Linked DNA regions of Homo sapiens: region 1 is linked to region 2. The links are contacts of gene promoters, found by promoter capture Hi-C in human tissues and cell types (Jung and others, 2019). All regions are on one chromosome and are shown on one strand. Each heading gives the region's core, a stretch centred on a gene start or on the middle of the fragment in contact. The rest is flanking DNA. Distances are from core to core; before and after follow the strand shown.

Evidence for each region. Contacts are between HindIII fragments. The study calls those that stand out against the background at their distance.
Region 1: a contact is called between a fragment that was not itself captured here and the fragment with the promoter of TLR3 in region 2, in 1 of the 25 tissues and cell types used here (mesenchymal stem cells).

The regions. Positions count from the first base shown.
Region 1 is chr4:185,713,623-185,717,672 of GRCh38, reverse strand. The region is part of intron 3 of SORBS2 (sorbin and SH3 domain containing 2); the gene reads left to right. Among named protein-coding and RNA genes, the nearest start is that of SORBS2, 97 kb to the left of the region's middle. The HindIII fragment of the contact is 5,882 bases long and covers 1-4,050 here.
Region 2 is chr4:186,066,342-186,070,737 of GRCh38, reverse strand. It overlaps TLR3 (toll like receptor 3), which reads right to left and starts at 1,582. Exons shown (of 5, transcript NM_003265.3): 1 at 1,490-1,582. The HindIII fragment of the contact is 6,210 bases long and covers 1-4,396 here.

The DNA of each region.
Region 1 (4,050 bases), core at 1,338-3,837, 350 kb after region 2:
TTCTACTTTACCTCAATCCAGGGCGCCCAGCTAACTACACTCCTCAGTTTGTGGTACTTTATCTCCTTTGACCACATGCGGCTTCTACCTATATGTGTAAGCCCTGCTTTTAAACCACAAGCCACCCCCCATGCCTATGTGTAATACCGTCTAGCGTCTTAAGAAATTACTGAAAGATACGACTCAATTTGAAGAAGCAAATAATACGCGTTGCACACAGGATCGCTATTGGAGGATGTCGGCCTTCCTCAGATAATAGTTGCCATGTTTCTGCTACAGAGATATCCATGGCTCCCTTAGTCTCCTCCCTTTGTGCAAAACAATATCTCACAGGAAGTAACAGAAAAAAATTATGTCCAGCAATCACTGCCCTTTTCTTCTGGCATTTTGACAGTGGCAGGGTTATGCCCTATAATCAAAGGAAACACAGAGCGGCCATCTCCTAGCAACTCCCTGAAGGTCGCTCCCGGGGAATCACTGCTGTGGCTGGGTGTGGGTGCACTTCACTTCCAGGTTTGAAGACAGCGGCGCTCCCACGCCAGCCACGAGCTCTTCTCAGTATACTTCCAATACAGTGAACCTGTGGTGGGTAGTGTTGCAGGAAGAATGAGCACTAAAGTGTCCTAAGCTCGGACAGTTTTATGGAAAATACATGGAAAAGCTTTATCATCTTCTTGGTTGTGGTTAAAAATCTAATTGCAATTAAATGTCACTAGTAATCAAAATCATCTTGCTACTCTGCCGTTTCCCTTTGCCAAAGTCTGTTTCCCACTTCTTTTCTGTAAAGGGACATCTGTCATGCAGGGGTGGACCGCTCACAGCATCCTCCCTCCACTGATGTTTCCTCCCCGTGGGCCTCTGACCCGCCTGCGCAGTCTGGTGTGCTGGTGAGACCAGTCAGGCAGAACTGGCTCCCACTCAATCCAGGGAGCTGCTGCTCCTGGAGCCTAAAGCACCAGCGGAAGGTGCAATGAACACAGATTTTACTCCACCATCTGTGGAGTAAAGAAGCAAATGTGAGCCCAGAAGAATTCATCCTTCAAACCAAGATTTAGTAGACGCCCTTAAAAAAAACTCATTTATACAAGAGAAAACCTGATTCGTGAATTCATTTGAATGAGGGACCAAGGCAAGAAGGGGCCCCGTATCTGAAATATTTCAACCGCTAGTCACACCTGTCGGTGCCAAGGCAACATCCCCTGTTTAATAGCAGCAGGAGTCACATTTTTGGCAGTACCTGCCAGACTCACTTCTAAGTGCTTCGTGTATACGCATCCACTGGGTCCTTCAGCCACCCCAGGAGGTTGGCACCGTTGTTATCCCTGTTTCTAGAGGAGGAAATGTGGGCAGGTTCAGAGAGAGGATAAGTCACTTTCTGAAGTGATCCATCTGGATATGGTAGAATGGGCTTTTCACAAAGCTGGCTTGGCTCCAGCATCTACACTCTTGACTACCTCGCCAGCCTGCCCCAGCAGCAGGTGTTACGGGAGACCACGCCCATCTCTGTCTGGGAGTTGAGCAGCAGGTGATGCCACAGTTCTTAAAAGTAGCCCATAATCAGGATCATAAGCCTTCGTTATGAAATACTTTTTCTATGAAATCCTCTGATGATATAGGAACTGTCTATTTCTATTTATTAGAAGAGGAAGAGGACTACTTTCTCTTAGGTCTCTGACTGTGTGGCTTGCCATAGAAAAAGATGTTACTTCTAATCTCTCTCCAGCAGTCACATTGTAGGACATGGCACAGTGGGCATGACTGTTAAGAATAGCCTTCCTTTCAGAATATTCTGTTACACATTCCAGCAACATTTATTAAGCACTTAAGATTTATTATTTATCTATTGAGCATTTAGTAGTTTTCACTCTTTTTTTATGACCTCTGTCTTTAAGCCACTTGTAGTCGAGGGAGGAAAACATGGATGGAGCTGTCACTCCTGCATATTTCTAAAGGATTTAGATTCTGTCTACATTTTTGGTCTGTTGTATTTCAAGTTGTTGAGTTCCAGAAATGTTCTACTCGCTACATAAAGTACTTTTTAATCTATTTCTATCAAAAACAATTTTGAAATATAATGGAGTGTCTTTTAATCCTGGTAAGTTAGGGCTTAGGGAAAAATAGAGTTAACTTTACCAGTTTTTTTCTGATTTTAAATTTTCAGTCTCATGTTTCTTTAGTCTTAATTATTCTAGGTTAAATTATTTCTTTTTATTTTTTAAACTAAATATTTATTTTATTTTTTATTTCGTGTCTGTTCCTTTGGCCTTTTCATAGGGCTTTTCTCAACTTTACTATCTCCTTGGGGTACAGGAGTGGTGTTTCTTGGAGAGAAAAGCTATAAATTGCTGGAGACTAAATTAATATCAAAATAGAAGGAATTTTGTTACATCATCTCTTTTTCGCCTTATTGCCTGGCATAATCCCATTTTATGCCTGTTACATCAGCATAAATACTGATAACTTCTACTTTTAGTCTTAACATCACTCTTTCAGTTTAGGCAACTTATTTAGTCATGCTATCCAAAAGCAGAATAAAGCTAATGATTAAGTAAATTTATTCTTTGCAAACAAATTCATGGAGATTAATGAGAAAATGTTGATATTTTTAAAAAATCTGTCGTGAAAAATGCCATGGTAAAGTGGTCTTCTTTTTAATGATTTACAAGCCTTTAACTTATAACCCAAAACACAGTTGCTTATTTCTTTATAGACTCATGTGTTCTGAAGATAAGTGAAACTTTTAAATGATTTGAGAGGTTTAGGTAGCATGCCTGTTGATATGGTTTGGCTCTGTGGCCCCACCCAAATCTCACCTTGAATTGTAATAATCCCCATGTGTCAAGGGTGGGGCCAGGTGGAGATAATTGGATCATGGGGGTGGTTTCCCTCAAGCTGTTCTCGTGGTAGTGAATACATCTACGAGATCTGACGGTTTTATAAAGGAGAGTTCCCCTGCACATGCTCTCTTGTCTGCCACCATGGAAGACATGACTTTGCTCCTCCTTTGCCTTCTGCCATGACGGTGAGGCCTCCCCAGCCATGTGGAGCTGTGAGTCCATTAAACCTCTTTCCTTTATAAATTACCCAGTCTCAGGTATGTCTTTATTAGCAGTGCGAGAACAGATTAATACACCTGTATACCTAATTGCTGTTGTGAAACACATTTCTGCACAAATTTTAGGTTATAGGTTTTCTGTGTTGATGAGGTGAAAAAAAAAAGCCTAAACTAAATTTAAGTGAAGTTATATAAACATTACATCTGCCATTATTCTACTTAATGCCACCTAAGTGTATCCATGAAACTCAGTATATAAACCTGGTATAGACCAAGTGTAGGGTCAGAGGCTGGCTGAGGGAGCAATGGGATGACGTGAAGCTGAAAGCAAGACACTGCTGCAAAATATCCTACACTCTAGCCTGCTGACTCCTCCCATTATTTGAGATACTCCTTTAGAAAGAATGGAAGAAAATCTGTTAAAATGCAAATGTATTATTTTGATAAAGCAATGCCTCATCATTCATAATTTTAACAAAACCCAAGGAAATTAAATGTAAGATAGAAAATCAACCATATATCCACTTAAATAATGAAGGTTATGTTATCACCAGGAAAGTAATTTTTTCATTATACTTAAGGATAGGTGGGTAGCTGTTCCATCCCATTTCTAGAATTGAAGTTTAAGATCCTGTGTAGTGGTGGTGATTCCATATTTCACAGAATTGCCTCAGCACTGTTTGAAATCAATGCTAATGGTCAGAGTCCAAAGTCAGATTGTGATGTTTGTCTAGTTTCACACAAAACGACAAAGGCAAATAATGGTGTGCAGTATGAACATATGGCAATATTAATGTGTACCAGGCTGCAATATCATGACAGTGGGAAACTAAATGATAGTAATGATTAAATTATAGTAATGATTACAGATTCTACTCACTAAATTATAAAGCACCGATTTGTTTCACTCTGACTTTCTCTTGCACCCTTTTCCACAGCAGCAATATTTCTGCATTTGCCTAAGTGGTGAAGCTGACTACCTCTTTGCATTTGCT
Region 2 (4,396 bases), core at 333-2,832:
AGCAAGACCTTACCTCTAAAAAACAAGAAAATTACCTTTGACCAGGCCAAGAAAATTACCTGTGGCTCATGCCTGTAATCCCATCACTTTAGGAAGCTGAGGCTGGAGGATCCCTTGAGCCTAGGAGTTTGGGACCAGCCTGGGCAACACAGGGAAACCTCATCTCCACCAAAATTTTTTTTTAAATTAGCTGGCCATAGTGGTTCACACCTGTGGTCCCAGCTACTCGTGACACTGAGGTGTGAGAATTGCTTGAGCCAGGGAGGTCAAGGCTGCAGTGAGCCACGATCATGCCACTGTACTTCAGCCTGGGCAACACAGCGAGACCTTGTCTCTAAATCGATAAATGAAATAAAATGAAATAAAATAAAATAAAATAAGATAGGGAAATTTCACATCCATCTGAATAACTAAATAAAAAGGTATAAGTATTTTGAGATATGCAAAAATTCAGTAAGTTTATAGCCATACGATCTGTATGAAAAGGTTATTCTAGGACATGCTTCAGTAAAACAAGCAAAAATGCAGTTAAAGGATGAAATGAGAGTGAAGAAAACGTTGCTGTTGAATGAGATCTAGCAGAAATAAAGAAAATGAAAAAAAATTAAAAAGAGACTCACTCAGCCTTAGAATTTTGGAAATATTTTGTGAGGGCACATGGAATTCACATTCTTTGTCCAAGTGAGAGACAATATTGCCTGATGGTTAGGACATGGGGTCTGGAGGCAGACTACCTGGAGTTAACCACTATCCATAGTTTGATTTGTAAACTTTGCAACCTTTGTAGTAGGTTCATACACAGGCACGCCCATATGAAGACACATACCAGCACGTAATCATCTGTAAACCTGGGAATCAACTTGCTGAAGCCAACTCCATTTTTACCCGAGTACCCCACAATTGCCGATACCAGTTTCTGATCTTCCCATACACCTTAACAACTTTCCACTTCTCCACTTCTTCCATTATCCTTCATTAGGTGAAAGAAAGCCATTTACTTACTCCTAGGCATACCTGAATGTTCTCTCCTATCTAAGACATTGTCATACAATGCCAGCTCCTGTCTCCCCTCCAGCCAATAAAACTAACAAAAGGGGATACGCTCTTTTAACCTCTTGGAGTTTTGTTTCTTTAAGGCAAAGATGTGATTTGCTAAAAAGACTGTTGCAAAATGATTTCCATAGCTTCCCTAATGTGTTTTTTCCAGGTACAGAATGCTACAGAGAAAAAAATTAAATACTGCATAAATACATTATCACATTAACTAGATATTGGTGCTATTACTTGTGTTCTGAGTTATACCCTTCTCCCATGCCCATATCATATCCCTTTTCTTCCACTTTCCTTCCTGAATAATTCTGACTAGATTTCAAGCACCAGATCAAAGAAAGACCAAAGAAGGCTAAAACCACATGCATTCTGCTAGCAAACTCTACTCAGCAAGAGAGACCCTGCCCAGTAAGAACGTGAAATGAACACCTTCACTTACTTGGATGACTGCTAGCCTTTCCTTTTTTCTTTAGTCCAAATCCAGACATTTCATCAGGGAAGTGTGTGGCAAATAGACGGCACTCTCGAAAGTGAAAGTAAAGCTTGAAAAAAAATGCTTTTATGTTTGGTGCATTCCAAGAAGGGCAAAGGGAGAAAACAAAAACAATCTCTGACAACCTCAGAGAGGCGTTTCAAACCGCCTCTGAAAAACACCTAGTTTTTATTTTATTTTAACTTTTTTTAAGCTGAGATCCTTGGATTTCATTGAAAGGGTCACAGATTTAGCAACAGCTAAAGTTGAAAGTGGGGACCTCACCATTTGATGTGGGCGGGTCTGGACCTCTGCAAGTTAAGGAATAACAGTGAATCCCTCAATTTTCTGCTAGACTCATGCGAAGCTGTCAGAATTGAGTAGTGTATGGTCACAGGGACAGAAAAAAAAATCCCTAATCAAAGCTGAAGTACTTTCCCTTCTTTCGTCTGGCTTTTATCTCTTTGCAACACTGTAAAATAACACCGGCAGAAATTAACCTCTTGATCCAGGAAGAAACTGAGTTTCACAGCAGAGAAAGAGCCAAACATGGCAAAGCTGAGAGCCAGTCCCACTCCTGCTGATCCACTTTTCCACGGTCAGACGCGTTAGGGAACAGATCAGTATGCCCAGAAAAGTTCAGATTAACTAAGAATTTCGTTCTTAATTTGCTTTAATGACTCCAACTAGTTAAGTAAATGTACTTGTTAAGAAATGAACTCACTTTTTTTCATTACAGATGTGCTATGATCTATTATAACTATATTGTTATATAGTGAAATATCACAATTGGAAGGAACTATAGACCACCTAATCTAACTCCCTTGTTTGAGAAATTAGGAAAACGAAACCTAGGGAGGTGAGTGGTTTGCCTAAGAACATGCCACAAGCCACCATATGCTTCAATCACACAAGTCATAAAACAACTGGACGGCTGGGACATGGCATTAGCTTGAACTCATTGCAGAGCTGATGGCAAGAAACAAGCGTGCATCATGGTGCAAAGTGCCCTCTTGTGGGCTCCAGCTTCAGCTAGACCGCTTTATAGTTACTGGGCTCAGGGCTACATGTCTCTGATTTTCATTTGTGACATCTGTAACATAACACCATAAGCAAACAGATGTCCTGAGTACGTGACTGTCCCTCACATCTATCCATTGGGATGTCCAGGAAAACTTCACTAATATTCAAAAGATTTCTTCTCTGTGAGCGCCTTGAAGGCAGGGTGAGGTTTATTCTTTGCATTATAGCTCCCCAGCAACCCTCTGAGGTAGACTGTTTCTTTGGCCTTCAATGAAAGAGACTCGTCCTCAGAATTCAAACCCTTGTGTGGCCTTCTCCCACGCTGACTCTAGGCTTGGCCATTTGACTAGCTTTGACCAGTGGGATATTAGCAAGCATGCAACAAGGTCTCATTGCCAAACACGATTACCCAGGCTTGAGAAGCAAGCAAATAAATGATTGTTGTTTTAAATTTAAAAAAATTGGAATGGTGTCATATGCATTATTAGCGAAATAAAACACATCATCTCAACAATCCTTCATACCTATCCCTTATGCCTTATGACTCCTTATACAGATTAAATTTCCCACGACTTTGGTTGACTAATGAATGGCTCTCGATAAATAAATTTTATTGATGGTCTCCTGATGCAGTAGTTTGGGCTTAATACCAGTTCATATTCAGATATTATTAGTCCTTAATTCTTGCTAGTTTCTAAATACAACACAGATTGTTTTCTCTCTACTGTACATTTCTTAACTATGTGCATTAACTTATTTAGCTATGATGGTGATTGGAGCAATAGTGAAAAACCTCATTTTTCCCCTTTTTAAAAGAATTAAGGCTGGGAGCAGTGGATCATGCCTGTAATCCCAACACTTTAGGAGATTGCTTGAGCCTAGGAGTTCAAGACCAACCTGGGCAACGTGGTAAAACTCCATCTCTACAAAAATTACAAAAATTAGCTGGGCATGTTGGTGCATGCCTATAGTCTCAGCTACTTGGGAGGCTGAGGTGGGAGGATCACTTGAGTCCAGGCAAATTCAAGTTTGCATTGAGTCATGAGTGCGCCACTGCACTCCAGCCTGGGTAACAGAGGGAGACCCTGTCTCAAAAAAAGAGAGAGAGAGAATTAAAAAAAAATGTATGCCCATAAATGTAAAATAACAAATTTAGTAAACACTGATATTTCACAGCATTACAGATCAGCCAATCTCAGAATAATGGGAAGCTGTATATTCCCAGCAAAACAGAGATCTACAGAATTCTAGAAGCCAAAGTCCCTTAAATTTATTCACATTCTAAAAACTCTAAGTTCCCTTCTTCCATTTGAGGGGCCTCTTTAATGAGAGTTTAGTAAGATAATATACACAAAATTTCTGGAAGAATCACTTGACAAAACACAGCAAGTTACAGAGACCGGAGTGACAAGCCAGATATAATTAGCAAATTACCACTCACATGCTGAACTACACAGACACTGTTCTTCTCTGCCCGTTCCTAATAACAATTCTTAATAAAACAGCCGTTTTTATTTTTTTTAATCTTTTTTTTCCTGAGACAGAGTCTTGCTCTGTCACCCAGGCTGTAATTCAGTGGCGCGATCTCAGCTCACTGCAAGCTCCGCCTACCGGGTTCAAGTAATTCTCCTGCCTCAGCCTCCAGAGTAGCTAGCTGGGACTACAGGCACGTGCCACGACGCCCGGCTAATTTTTTGTATTTTTGGTAGAGACGAGGTTTCACCGTGTTAGCCAGGATGGTCTCGATCTCCTTACCTCGTGATCCACCCACCTTGGCCTCCCAAAGTGCTGTGATTACAGGCGTGAGCCACTGCGCCCGGCCAATTACAACCATTTTACCTATAGACAAAG